Linked DNA regions of Homo sapiens: region 1 is linked to region 2. Evidence: promoter capture Hi-C in 16 types of primary human blood cells and fetal thymus (Javierre and others, 2016). All regions are on one chromosome and are shown on one strand. The core of a region is centred on a gene start or on the middle of the fragment in contact, and the rest is flanking DNA. Distances in the headings are between cores, read along the strand shown. Region 1 has its middle 87 kb from the start of MACF1. Region 2 holds the start of HEYL (hes related family bHLH transcription factor with YRPW motif like).

Evidence for each region. Contacts are between HindIII fragments. The CHiCAGO score rates a contact against its expected background, and 5 or more counts as called.
Region 1: a contact is called between a fragment that was not itself captured here and the fragment with the promoter of HEYL in region 2, in 1 of 17 cell types (fetal thymus). The highest score is 5.9, in fetal thymus.

The regions. Positions count from the first base shown.
Region 1 is chr1:39,114,108-39,121,621 of GRCh38, forward strand. It overlaps a transcript of MACF1 not described here and the pseudogene RNU6-608P. Among named protein-coding and RNA genes, the nearest start is that of MACF1, 87 kb to the right of the region's middle. The HindIII fragment of the contact is 3,974 bases long and covers 861-4,834 here.
Region 2 is chr1:39,637,137-39,643,868 of GRCh38, forward strand. HEYL (hes related family bHLH transcription factor with YRPW motif like) reads right to left here and starts at 2,507. Exons shown (of 5, transcript NM_014571.4): 1 at 2,410-2,507. The coding sequence starts at 2,489. RefSeq lists silencers at 2,284-2,353, 2,474-2,863. The HindIII fragment of the contact is 7,834 bases long and covers 1,707-6,732 here.

The sequences.
Region 1 (7,514 bases), core at 1,598-4,097, 520 kb before region 2:
CTATCCCCTGCCCCTACACACCCCCACCCAACAACCACAGAAAGCATATTGTCTAAAGCTCTGTATACTTTACTGTTTTTTTTTTTTTTTTACAATTTTCCACATTAATATGTGTTCATAATATGAAAAGAAATTATTCAAAAATATAAATCAGTTGGCTTCCCTGGTGGTCTAGTGGCTAGGATTCGGCACTTTCAAAAATATAAATCAAAGTCCATGACTCTAAAAATAACATATGCATTGATATGCTCGCCCCTTTGACCCTTCTCTCAAGAGAAATTCCCTGCCAAGTAATCCACATACATAAGAAGTGTAAAAAGTCCCTAGATTAAAAGAGCATAAAACTTCATTATGGAAACACAGTAGTCCCAGCTATTTGGGAGGCTGAGACAGGAGGATCACGAGTCCAGGAGTTTGAGGCTACAGTGAGCTATGATCACGCCATTGCACTCCAGCCTGGATGACAGAGGAAATATTAATTTTAGAGTAATCAGAGAAAGCCGCATGAAGAATAAATTAATAAGTATTTATTGAATGTCTACCATGAACCAGGGAGTAGGTGATGTGCTGAGAAGACAAAGATATTGTCCTTGTCTCTCTATGATCTTACTGTTAAATGGAGGAAACATATTGGCAAACTGACAGTTACTGTCTATTGTAGGGAGGGCTATCATATAGATAAATGCTGATGCTGTGGTAGTGAAGAGGAGTACCCAGTATAGCCAGAGTGAGAAAGTGTCCAGGAAGGCATCCAAGAGTAAGTGAAACCTGAACTGTTACCTAAAGGATGTGGGACCCTGAGCAAAAAGTTTGGGGAAAGAGCATTCTGGGCAGCATGAACAGAAGTAAGGGGATGAGCAAGCTTGAGAGGGGGAATATTGGGCATTGATAAGGTTGGAGCATAGGATGTGAGGGAAGGAGAGATGAGATGAGATAGGGAGAGTGGGCAGGACAAAAATGTTGACTGGCTTTGTATGTCATATTGTATAGAGCTTGGACTTTATCCTAAAGGCTTTTGGGAGCCATTGAATAAAAGTAGGCAAGGAAGACTATGCTTAGATTTACATTTTAGGAGTACTTTTCCTCTGGCAGCAGTGCCAAGGAAGGTAGGGGCGAGGAGGAAAGACTAGTGGCAGACAAGTTAGGAAGCTGTCACAGGAATTTAGGCAGGGAGTGAAACTAAGGTTGTGAAAATAGTAATGTAATAAAGCAGGCAAATCAAGAAATGTGAAGGGGTAACATCCATGTGTTTTGATGACTAATTGTATGTGGTATATGAGGGGGAGAGGGAAGAACCTAGGATGACTTGGAGGTTTCTGGCTTGAGTATTTGTGTGGGTGGGTCGTGTCATGAACTAAAATAGAGAATATAAGAGGAGGAAGGTTATTTTCTGTGAAGTGGTGGCAGTGATGGTCCACGAGAAGATACTGAGTTTAATTTAGGTTACATTGCGGTCGAGGCTTCTGAGGGATGCTAGGTAGAGATGTCCAGGAGGTAGTTGGTTGTAATGAACATGAAACTTAGGAGAGTGATAGGTGAGAGGGTGAGAGAGTCATCAGCTTATCAAACCACAGCCATAGGAGGGGAGAAGGAGCTGGCTTTAGGAGTGTATGTATATTGAGACAAAAACTCTGGGGAACTCCAACAGGAGAGTGGTGTCAGAAGCAGAGAAAGAGGATCTCCTGAAGGAAATTGTCCACAGAAAGGGAGTGGCCAGAAAGGTAAGAGGAACAGGAGAGAAGTGAGTTTCAAGGAGAGTGTGACACACATTGTAGATTATGCAGAGGTCAAATAAGGCAAAGACTACAGATGTCCAAAATAAAGGTTACTGCTACTGGAACATTTTCAGTGGAGTTGTGGGAAGTGAATGGAAAGTGCAGAAGAGGAGTCAGTGACCTTTGGAACTTGGACTTTGAAGGAAGAGAGAGGAGGAAGACAGGTGAAGAAGGGTGGGGAGAGTTTTGTTTATGTATTGTAACACAGGAGAGACTTGAGCATGTTTATTTTAAGTGCTGTTTTGAAAGAGCCAGTAGAGAAGGAAGATATAATACAATTCAAAGACGGGGAGAAAAATTGATGGAGCATGGGCTCTAGAGTCAAAAGTTGTGTCTTTTAGAAAGATCAGAGGGTTAAAAATAAGAATGCAGGTGATTAAGTTGGTTGGTTAGAGGTGTAGGAACTTGAGGGAATTTCTCCTGATGCTCATACTCTCTCTATGAAGTAGGAGGTGAAGTTATTTGCTGAGAGTCAGGAGGAAGGAAAGAAGGGGTGAGTGTGTATGTGTGTGTGTGTGTGTGCACGTGTGTGTGTGTATGTGTGTGTGTTTTCCCTCTAGCCCTAGAAGCACTCAACAACCTGATTGTAATAGATTCCAAGGCAGACAGGTAGATTGATCTAGGATCAGAATTTTCCAGCATAGTTTTGACGGAAGAATATGGGGTCCTTGTAGTTTGTCTTAAAATGTAGCATCAGTTTGATTATTGATTGTTTGTACTGTTGTTCTCTGGCTGGCTTGTATTTTGGCTCCCCAGTGAAATTGTCTACTCCTCTGGGAAGAAGCATATATGTAACTTTTGCATTCCTGCCTGTCATTTAGCTAAATACTATGCAGAAATTAATTCTTAAGTTTTTGTTGAGATAATTTGACTTTTGGACAGGACATCTTGACTCTTGACATAGAGAGAGGCTTTCCTCACTTGTGGTCTTTAATCCCCATCTCATTATCTGACATGGATAGTGGAGGATTCACTCACTCTCCATGAGTGAACTCCAGGCCTAGCTTCTTCATTAGTCTTAACAGGTTAGCTTTACTACTCTCCCCAGGGCAGTTGAGCTTTGCTTTCCATGAAGGTTATGTAGTTAATTTGTACTAGGCTTGTGAAGACCTGGGTGTTTACAAGACTGGACAGAGAGGCTGTTGTGGAAAATGCAGCCTCCTTCTTGTTTATTTTGGCAGGCAGGCAATGAAGGAGATAGATTTGTTCTCATGACTCAGAGCCCTACCTGCTTTACCTTAACAGGTTCAATATAACCACCACCTTTCAGATGTGATAGTGTCCTTCAGAGTTTATCTGACCTTTATATCTAAAAAGAGTATTAGTTACCCTTTGCCCTCTACTTGCTTGGTTTTTTTTCACTTTTATTCCAGTGTAGAGGATATTTCCTAATGTGTTAGGGCCAGCTCAGAATTGATGTAGTTCTTTCCCATTGGCACATTCCGCATCTTTGTTTGTTTATTGCCATGTTCGCCACAGTGTGCCTTGTTTTGCGCTCCTTGTTTTGTGAAGCTGGACTCTTATCAGATAAACTTGCCATGAGTCACACTGGGGAGTGGAAGTATGTCTCCACTAATTTGGAGAATCTTTGATCTTGTTTCACTCCCTGGTTTGGCTTGTCCAGTGCAATTTGTCTCTCAACCTGCAAGAGGTGTGTGTGTGTGTGTGTGTGTGTGTGTGTGTGTACTTGGGTGTCCCTTGCCTGTGGCTTCACCTGTTGCCATGAATGGTTGACTTCAGGGCATGCCCCTTTGTGTATACAGACTTCCTCTACTATTGTTATCACCATCAGCAAAAATGTCTCTGTTAAGAGCCTCTTTGAATGTAGAATATAGTATATAACACTGAGAGTTCATAAACCCTCTGTCCTCTAGGGATTTACAGTATATAATACACATTACAAATGACAAAAGACAATAAAGAATGTGTAAGCGGTTGAACAAATAATGGATTATTGCTCCTCATTTAGCTATCATATTCACAGTAGAAGATATCCTAAAAAGACATGTAGTCAGTGAGGAAGAGGATTAACAGAGACCAGATCATCTTCAGCTCCAACTAAGATGGCAGAGAGCTGCCACCTGTGGCCCTTTGATGCCAGGTAATTTCTCTCTGATATCCTTTCTAGTCATGCAGGACCTTTTTGCCATATTATCTATACATATGGGGCAGGATCCTAACAGGACCTTTGCTCTCTAGTGGTAACCTGTCACTGAAATGGGAGGCTCCAGTTTCCAGCAGGGAGAGTGCCTGGAAGGCTTGGCTCTTCTGGTACAGTTATCTTTGTAACTTGAGAAAATTTATTCCAGACCTACTACAAACATTCGTGTGCTCACAAGCACCACAGACAGAGCAGCAGCCAAAGCTAGCTGCAGCCTGAGCATGGGTCAGTGTAGGGAAAGAAGCTAACTGACCTGGCCTGAGTCACCTCTAGAGGGGAAGAATGTAGGACTTGTCCCAGCCTTTGTTGGTTAGTTTCCCAAATGGAAAACAGGGACCAGAGTAGGTGGGGTACTTTGAGGTCCTCATACCTTTCAGAGGACTGGATCCTTGTTTTCATTCTTGTTCTTATTGTTAATAAGTGTAATAACAGTATTCATGTAACACTGCCTTTATTAGGAAGAATGAGGAACTGCCAAAGGGCTGGAAATTTTCTTTACTTTCCCTGTGGGAGAGAAAGATAGATGGAGCATTAGGTGCCCATCTCTCAGGCCTCCTTTCTCTGATTATCCTGTGGGAAGTACCTGGAAAGCAGTGAGGCATTGGAAGGAATGGTCTAGGCCTTGGCATGAGTATGTGGTCGTGAAGGCATAAGACAAAATATCTTGTGTAGCTGTAGCACAGGTGCTGTGGTAAGAGGAAATAGGTTTGGGGGCAGTATTAAGGGGGCTAATAAGCGCAGAAAATAGTATTTGTTGCTGTCGTTAGTTACTTCACTTTGCCTTGCCTATATGTATTGTCTGACAGCAGAGCCGAAACTCCAGCATCCTTTTGTCTCCTCCTCCTCCTCCTCTTTTTCTTATTTTCTGACTTATAAAGATGTATATCTTCAATAAATAAGCTTGTGATGATATGGAAAGTTAAATAAATAAAAGTTCTAGAAATTGGAAAACTAAATGGTGATTTCATTGTGGTCTTTAAATATAACAAGTGTTATAGGCCACGGTGGCTCACACCTGTAATCCCAGCACTTTGGGAGGCCAAGGCGGGCAGATCACCTGAGATCAGGAGTTCTAGACCAGCGGGACCAACATGGAGAAACCCCGTCTGTACTAAAAATACAAAATTAGCTGGCGTGGTGGCCCATGCCTGTAATCCCAGCTACTTGGGAGGCTGAGGCAGGAGAATCGCTTGAACCCGGGAGGCGGAGGTTGCGGTGAGCCGAGATCGCACCATTGCACTCTAGCCTGGGCAACAAGAGCGAAACTCCGTCTCAAAAAAAAAAAAAAAAAAAAACAACCAGAAAAACAAACAAGTGTTATAATTGTAATTCTTGTAATTCCTTAAGCCAAAACTCCATTATAACATTTCTTAGTTTGTTGTTGTTGTTGTTGTTGTTACTTTTTGTGTGTATTTGTTTGAACTTCCCAGCTGTATTGTGATCTCTTTGAAGGTCTAGATTGTGTCTGATGAGATGCATATGATGCACTTCATGAATTGAGCTACTTTGCAAATGATGCTGGTTGTTTTATTTCTTAGTGTTTTCAGCAACTTCCAGCACCTTTCACAATGTTTCTTTCCACGTGGTTGTCCCACAGATGTTGCATACTTGATATGTCCAAAAGGGGCATTGTTGTCCCCCTCCCTGCTCCTGGACCTGCCTCTTCTTCTATGTTCCCGATTTTAGTGAATGCTTTTCCCGTCCATCCAGTGGAGAAATTCTAAATACTGAATGCTTTGTGTATACTAAATATATATTCTGTCCATTTCATAGTTTAAAGTGTTGCTATCAGATGGAGAATTGTAATGTGCAGAATATAATAAAGCCTCTTTTTTTTTTTTTTTTTTTTTTTTTGAGACAGAGTTTTGCTCTTGTTGCCCAGGCTAAAGAAGTGCAATGGCATGATCTCGGCTCACCGCAACCTCTGCCTCCCAGGTTCAAGCGATTCTACTGCCTCAGCCTCCTGAGTAGCTGGGATTACAGACATGCGGCACCACGCTTGGCTAATTTTGTATTTTTTAGTAGAGACGGGGTTTCTCCATATTGATGAGGCTGGTCTTGAACTTCTGATCTCAGGTGATCCACCTGTCTTGGCCTCCGAAAGTGCTGGGATTACAGGCGTGAGCCACCGCACCTGGCCAATAAAGCCTCTTTATACCATTTTCTAATTTCTATTTCATAGAATTTTAAAACTGCATAAGCCTTTAACCTCTGTTTCTCAAATTCACTTTCCCCTTTGGAATGTTATAATTCTACTTCACCTGACTCCTGGAACTCCCTGTTATCATGTAACATATTTTAATTATTTTGATTGTTGTCTGAGTCTTCCTACTACAAGAGTGAGACTGAGTCTCACTCTTGGCCAGGCTGGAGTGCAGTGGCGCTGTCTCTGCTCACTGTAACCTCTGCATTCTGGGTTCAAGAGATTCTCCTGCCTCAGCCTCCCGAGTAGCTAGGATTACAGGTGTGCACCACCACACTTGGCTAATTTGTGTATTTTAGTAGACACAGGGTTTCACCATGTTGGCCAGGCAGGTCTCGAACTCCTGACCTCGTGATCTGCCCGCCTTGGCCTCCCAAAGTGTTGGGATTACAGGTGTGAGCCACCACACCCGGCCAACAATGCAAACTTCTTTTAAAAATTTGTTTTTAAATTTTTTGTGGGTACATAATAGGTGTATGTATTTATGAGGTACATGAGATGTTTTGATACAGGCATGCAATGTGAAATAAGCACATCATGGAGAATGGGGTGTCTATCCCTCAAGCATTTATCTTTGTGTTGCAAACAATCTAATTACACTCTAAGTTATTTTAAAATGTATAGTTAAGTTATTATTGACTATAGTCACCCTTTTGTGCTATCAAATAGTAGGTCTTATTCTAACTATTTTTTAAAAATGTGGAACACTTCACGAATTTGTGTGTCATCCTTGTGCAGGGGCCTCCCTAACCTCTCTGTTGTTCCAATTTTAGTATATGTGTTGCTTAAGTGAGCACTAGAATGCAAACTTCTTAAGAATAGAGGTTTTTATTTGTGTATTAACTAATTTCCCTAGCACCTAGAAGAGTTTCTGGTATAAAGTAGCTGCTCCAATCAATATTGAATGAATGAATTGGAAATGTTAAGTTAGTTCACTCTTGTTCCCCATAAGGAAAAGAGGCATGGAAAGGCACAATAACTTGCTCAAGCTAACGCCATATCTCCTTACCAGGTAAGTGGGTTTTAAAAAAGTTTAAATAAAACGATGCTTAATCACAGTTCCTTTATGTGATTTGGTACTAATGTGTATTATGGACTTAACTGTATTATCTCTATGAAAAGGGGTGGGGGAAGCAAAAGGGAAGAAGCTAATATATATTGAGTCCTTACTATATGCCGGGTATTTTGTTTTATTTTATTTATTTATTTATTTATTTATTTGAGACAGAGTCTTGCTTTGTTGCCTGGTCTGGAGTGCGGTGGCACTATCTCGGCTCACTACAACTTCGCCTCCCGGGTTCAAGTGATTCTTGTGCCTCAGCCTGCTGAGTAGCTGGGACTAGGCGCGTGCCACCACTCCGGGCTAACTTTTTAT
Region 2 (6,732 bases), core at 1,257-3,756:
GTGTCTGACATGTGGCAGGTGCTCATTAGATGTTTGCAGAGGGAGAGGAGAGGCTGTACTCTCAGTTTGGACTCATCCTGCGTCATGGGGCCAGGTTGAGATGAGAGCTCTGTGGGTGAGTTTCACAGATGTGGCAGGACTGCCACCAGGCAGATGCCACAGTGATGGTGGAACACACCCTGCTCTTTACTCTCACGTTTCTGAGTGTGGGGGTTTTGCGCCCTGCCCCTGACCCCGAGAGGCTGGCTGCCTCCGTCCTGCGGCCTTTGTCAGTGTTTATCTGCTTTCTTTGTACATGAAGCTCTTCTTCCCTGAGAGTTCCCTGAGGGCAGAGGCTGAGCAGGATACATCTGGGCCCCCTATGCCCAGCCCAGGGTCTGGGCCACAGCAGGCATCGTTCAGTGCTCCCTGAATTGAAGCATTGATGTCTGCTGGGGGAAGGGCCCTTTGGTGAGTGCTACAAAGGGGCATCTATAAGTCAGCCTCTGCCAGATGTCCAGCTGCTTTCTCTCCTCAGAGGGGTCTGCTCCTCTAAGAACAGTGTCTAAAAATGGGCTCTGTATATATAGGAAATGCTGTATGTATAGGAAAAAACTGCCCACTGATCCTTTATGCCTCATGTAAGCAGTTGCCCAGATGCTACTATCTTCAAGAAGCCCTCCTTGCCATCTTTGATTAAGAGTGACCTCTCTTTGCTTAAGTGCCCTCACAGCCCACAGTCTGTCTCCTTTCCATCCTGTCCATGGTGTTTTTATGACCTGGCAGGTCACTGACTGGGCTGCAAACTTGTGGAGGACAGAAGCCAGCTCTGATCAACCTAGTTCTCTGGCATCAATTTTGTGCCTCTGATCTATGAAGACCCAATGCCATTGAATTTGAGACCCCGCTCCACCACCACCACGTGGTGCTGTGCCCTTTCCTGGCCCTTAACAGGCACAGGCTAAGATAACTGCTTTTCTAAATAGCAGTTTCTGCTAAACAATTAAGAAAGGCTAATACGTTGCATAGCGAGTTGTGTTATACTCCCTAAAAACAAATGTACAGGCTGCAAGAGGAATATCTATTATGGCATTTTCCTGGGATTTGAGACTGAGGCAGGATCCTTGGATCTCAGAAAACTGGAGAGCACTAAAATTACAAAATGTCCTCAAAAACATCCCTAAGAATTAACTGGGCCTGGCTCACTGGCTTATGTCTGTAATCCCAACACTTTGGGAGGCCAAGGCAGGAGGATCACTTAAGCCCAGGAGATCAAGGTTGCCATGAGCTATGATCATGCCACTGCACTCCAGCATGGGCAACAGAGTGAGACCATGTCAAAAAGAAAGAAAGAAAGAATTAACTGAATTCCCCTCCAATTCTGTTCTAGAGAGTCAAGTCTAGATGAGCCAAGAGAGATGAAGTATATCCCTTTCTTTTCCACTGCTGTCTTTGTTTTACTGATGGGGAAACTGATGACAGACTCTGTCAGGGAAACCAATGGCCCAAGACCACATAGTGAGTTGGTGGCAGATTTGGGGCTGGGACCCAGGTCTGCAGACTCCCAGTCAGCCCTGCAGCTCTTTCAGGGTGCTGGGAATCACATGGTGTGTACCTAGGCATGTGCTGTGCTAAGCCCTTGACATACTTTGCCTCATTTGGTTTTCCCAATATTTCCATGAAGTTGGTTCTATTATTCATGCTCATTTAACAGATAAGGAAACTGAAGCTTAGACAGTTTACAGAACTGCGAGGTAGCAGAACTATACAAGCGCAGTTTGTTCGACAGGTTTGAAGCAGGTCAGACTATCTACCAGGAGCTGAAAGACACTGGCAGTATGGGGGCACGATAGGAGGAACATTGGAATTAGAGTCTAGGCCCTTGCAAGTCGCTTATTATTTTCTTCAATACTAAGTCCCTAAATCCAAACTCCAATTTGCTCAAAGGAGGACAAATTTTCTTCTTCCTGAAATAATTTGTGGACTACATGAAAACTGCATCCAAACTAGGGTAAAATTGGGAAAGGATGGGGTTACTCTGCATCGTCAGCAGATTCCAGACAGGGGCCAGAGTACCATCAGTCTATGAGAGTTTTCTAAGATCTCCAGGGAAAACCTGCCAATGGCCTCCCCTAGGCCACTTCAACAGATAGATGATAACCCACTAGCCACCTGATCCCCCGAGCTGAACTCTCCCTCCCTGCCAGCATCCCCAGCCCTGCACGACCGAGAGCGCGCAGGATCCAGGCACTCGTGCGTGTAACGGCACGGCCCGCACACGCCCCCTACGCCGACACCTGTGGCCCCCGCGCTCACCTGCCTCTGCCCAGGCGGTGCTGGAGGGCTGGCCCGCCTGCTCGGCGAGCCCGTCGGGCCGACCCCCACCCCGCTCGCCCTCCGCCTGCTCGGTCCCCGCATCCCGGCCCTTACCTCAGCTGGCCCTCTTGGCCCACGTCGATGGGTCCGTCGGACTCCCCGTCGGAGCCGCTCGGCTCCTTGGGTCGCTTCATGGCGAACGCAGGCTGCCTGGTCTCAGCCCCGCGGCTAAGGCTCCCAGTCGGGAAGTCAGGCCCCGCCCCGGCCCCGCCCCGGCCCCGCCTCGGGGGCGCCGCCACCGCCCTTTCCCAGGGCCCTTTCCTGCGCCGCAGCTCCGGGCGCCCAGGCGCCCCCTCGCCCCCGCGGTGACGCGCCGCCGAGCCGTGGGAAGGCCCTAGGCGGTCGCCGCCTTCATCGACGGCTGGGAGGTCCGGCTCTGCTCCGCTGTCTCGGCTGCCGCGCGCTGGGTGGCCTTGGGCAGGTGCCCTGGGAGGCCCCGCGGGGAAGCCAGGAGTCCCCGTCTGTCCCTGGGTCGCCTGGGCGCTGCTGGCCTGTAGAGGCGCCGCTTCGATGCCCGGGATTCCGCAAGGGTCAACCCTGCGCGCTCCTGCCTCCTGGTGTTCTGGAGGCAGCAGACACATCAAGTTTGTCGAAGTTAGTCGTGGTGGTTGTGGCCTGATCCTCAGCAAGAATTCCCCAGCAGCAACTCCATAGGGGCCCAAAGCAAGTGGAATAGTGTGGTGGGGGCAAGGGGAAGACACTTACACTTCTGAGAGGTGGCAGTCACCCCCAAAAGGGACGGCTGAAGTTGTGGCCACCGCATCTGAGAAAGCTGGGCTCTGGCCGAGGTCCCTAAAGGCCTGGCGTGGTGGCAGTGGTGGGTTGTCCCTGGGAATCAGTTCCCAGTTCACCAGAGGTCGAGTTGTCCTGGGCGGCCAGGAGGCCAGGAAAGGGCTCCTTCTAGACGCTATGGCAGGGCCTCAAAGTGGGAGAAGGAGAGGAAAAGGGAAGATACCTTCCAGCCTCTCTTCCTGGGGCCTCTGCTTCTGGCAACCCATCAAACTGTTCACTCAGGGAGGGCTCTAGCTGCCCTGTCCTTAGGGGGACTTGTGGGAAGTTCTCAGATTCACCGGTCATCCTCAGGCGCCCAGTACCTCAGAGAAGCTCCTAAGGCTCCAAAGGAAGCTGCATGAGAGCATCCTGGAGCTGGACTTCTTGGGCAGGGAAGAGGAGATAGAGGAGGTCTTGGTGTGCTGGGTTAGATATGAGAGGTCTTTTCCTTTTTACCCGCCACCAGGTCAGGACCTGAGGGAAGCCACCCCTTCAAGTGGGAGAATCGGGTTGGTCATCTGAGAATAACTGTGCTTCCATCCCCACAGCAAGGCCTGCTTGCTGGGGGACACTTGATTACTTGATGGGAAAGAATGTTCCTGTGCCCCCGTCCACACACATCCACAGACACAACCATTTGGCCAGGTATGCAAACACATACACACGGACAGACTTACAAATATATACTGGTAGGCGCAACTGTCGTGAGCAATCAGTACCAGGAAGCCCTGGTGGTCGCCCCAGCCACAACTATGGACTCTCATTCCAAATGCCCTCAGCACTCACATCACTTCTGTGGGCACATGCCAGTCAGTGGAAACCTCAACTAACAGAGAAGTTGCACAATGTGTTATGCATTCCCTGGAAAGGCGGAAGTCAAGGAAGCCTCCCAGATAGCTGCCCTGTGTAATTGGCTGAGATAGCAAAGATTGGAAGAGGAGCAGATTTGCAGGGGAAGGTCAAGGGCCCCGTGATGGACGTTTCATGTGAGATGTCTTGGATCATCAAAATACAGTGCACAGTTAAATAGAGGGTATGGAGTTCAGAACAGAGGTCTCAGCTGGATATTAAATTTGGACGTCATTAGGTAATTGATGGCATTTAAAGCTATGGGAGCAGATGGGATCATTCAGAAAACGTGGATGGAGACAGAGCAGGGGCCTAGCTAAATACTTAACATTTGGTGAGCCCTTATTATAAAACCTGAAACTATTCTAAGTCTTTTGTAAATATTAACTCATTTAATCCTTGACAACCCTATAAAGTAGTAATATTATAATCCCCACTTTACAAGTGAGAAACAAAGGCTGAGAGGTAGACTAACTCCACCTAAGGCCAACAGGCAATAAATGGAAGGGCTGGAATTCAACAAGGCAGTTCAGTTCCAGAGCCAAAACATTAGGCTTTATTACTTTATACAGTACTCCCCCTTCTTTTAAAAATAAAGACAAGGATTCACTCTGTCACCAGGCTAGAGTGTAGTGGTGCCATCGTAGCTCACTGAAACCTTGAACTCCTTGGCTCAAGTGATCCTCCCACCTCAGCCTCCTGAATAGCTCAGACTACAGGGGCATACCACCATGCTCAGCTAATTAAAAAAACAACATTTTGCCAGGTGTGGTGGCTCACGCCTGTAATCTCAGCACTTTGGGAGGCTGAGGCAGGCGGATCACAAGGTCAGGAGATCGAGACCATCCTGCCTAACACGGTGAAACCCCATCTCTACTAAAAAATACAAAAAATTAGCCAGGCGTGGTGGCAGGCACCTGTAGTCCCACCTACTCGGGAGGCTGAGTCAGGAGAATGGCGTGAACCCGGGAGGCGGAGCTTGCAGTGAGCCAAGATGGCGCCACTGCACTCCAGCCTGGGCGACAGAGTAAGACTCCGTCTCAAAAAAAAAAAAAAAAAAAAAAAAATTTTTTTTGGTAGAGATGAGATCTCACTATGTTGCCCGGGCTGGTCTTCAACTCCTGGGGCCAAGCAATCTTCCCACCTTGGCCTCCCAAAGTGTTAAGATTACAGGAGTAAGCCACTACACCCCGTCAATTATACAGCTCTTAAACATTGTGATATATTATCCAGTACTGAGCCTAGAGCTATGCCATCAATATAATAGCCACGAACCCCCTATGGCTATTAAGTACTTGAAATGTGGCTGGTCTGAATTGCTGTATGTGCAGTGAGTATGAAATACACACCAGAATTTTTTTAAGTGTGAACTATCTCATTGATATTTTTTGTTATGATTACATGTTGCAATGATAATATTGTATAAATATTGGATGAAATAAAATACATTAGTAAAGTTAACTTCCCTTGTTTTATTTTTAGGTTTTTAAAAATGTGACTACTAGAAAATGTTAAACTGCATATTTGGCTCCCATGATATTCCTATTGGATGGTGCTAATCTGGTGCAGGGTTTCTTAACCTCAGGACTACTGGCATTTTGGGTCAGGTCATTCTTTATTGTGTAGGGCTGTTCTGTGGATTGTAGAATGGTAAGCAGCCTCCCTGGCCTCTATCCACTGGATGCCAGTTATACCCGCTCCAGTTGTGACCATCAGAAATATCTCCAGATAAAATACCAAATGTCCCTTGGGGGAGAAATCGCCCCCAGTTGGGAACCGCTAGTCTGGAGAAACTCCAAGATTTAAAGGTTGTAGAAGAGAAAGAGCTGCCAGAGAAGACTGAAAGGGCAGTGGAGGAGAGTGGGGTGTGTGTGGGGGGGTGTGGGCAGGAGCCAAAAGAGTGTTTCAAGGACTTGGTCATGATCCTTTTAAAATGCCAGTCAGATCATGTCACTTCCTGCTCAAAACCATCCACACGCTTCACATCCCATTTGAAATAAAATGCCAACTGCTTACCATGCCCTATACACAGAACAACTGTAATAACCTGGGCACCTTTGAGAGTGAAAGGAGGCAATACTAATAATCATGCCAGGGCAGTTCAGGGCACACTGGAGGTACCATCTCCTAAGCTCAGGCCCCTGCCCATCTCTCCAGCTTCATCCCCAACCACTTTCTGCCTTGTCCACTCACCCACGACAGCCTTCTTGCCATTTGTATTGGGCCATTCTCACATTGCAGGGGCCAGAGCTTAGGATGACAAACATATAGCAACACATATAATGTAATGTCAGTGATATTAATAGATGCTGTGAAATAAGATAAAGTGAGGTGGAGACATAGGGTGACTGGGGGATTGGTGGCTATTTTACTTAGGGGTCAGGAGATCGTCTCTGAGGATGAATCACTTATGCAGAGACCCGAATGGAGAGAGGGAATCTAAGAAGATCTGGGGAAGAGGATTCCAGGCAGAAGGAACAGCAAGTGGAAAGCCCTGAGGTAGGAACAAGCATGGAATATCAATAGAATGGTGATATGGTTTGGATCTGTGTCCCCATCCAAATCTCATGTTGAATTGTAATCCCCAATGTTGGTGGTGGAGCCTGGTGGGAGGTGAGGGAGGTGGATTTTTCATGAATGGTTTAGTCCCATCCCCTTGGTACTGTTCTCATGATAGTGAGTTTTCATGGATCTGGTGGTTTAAAGGTGTGTGGCACCTCCCCTGCTTCCTCTCTTGTTCCTGTTTTTGCCATGTGA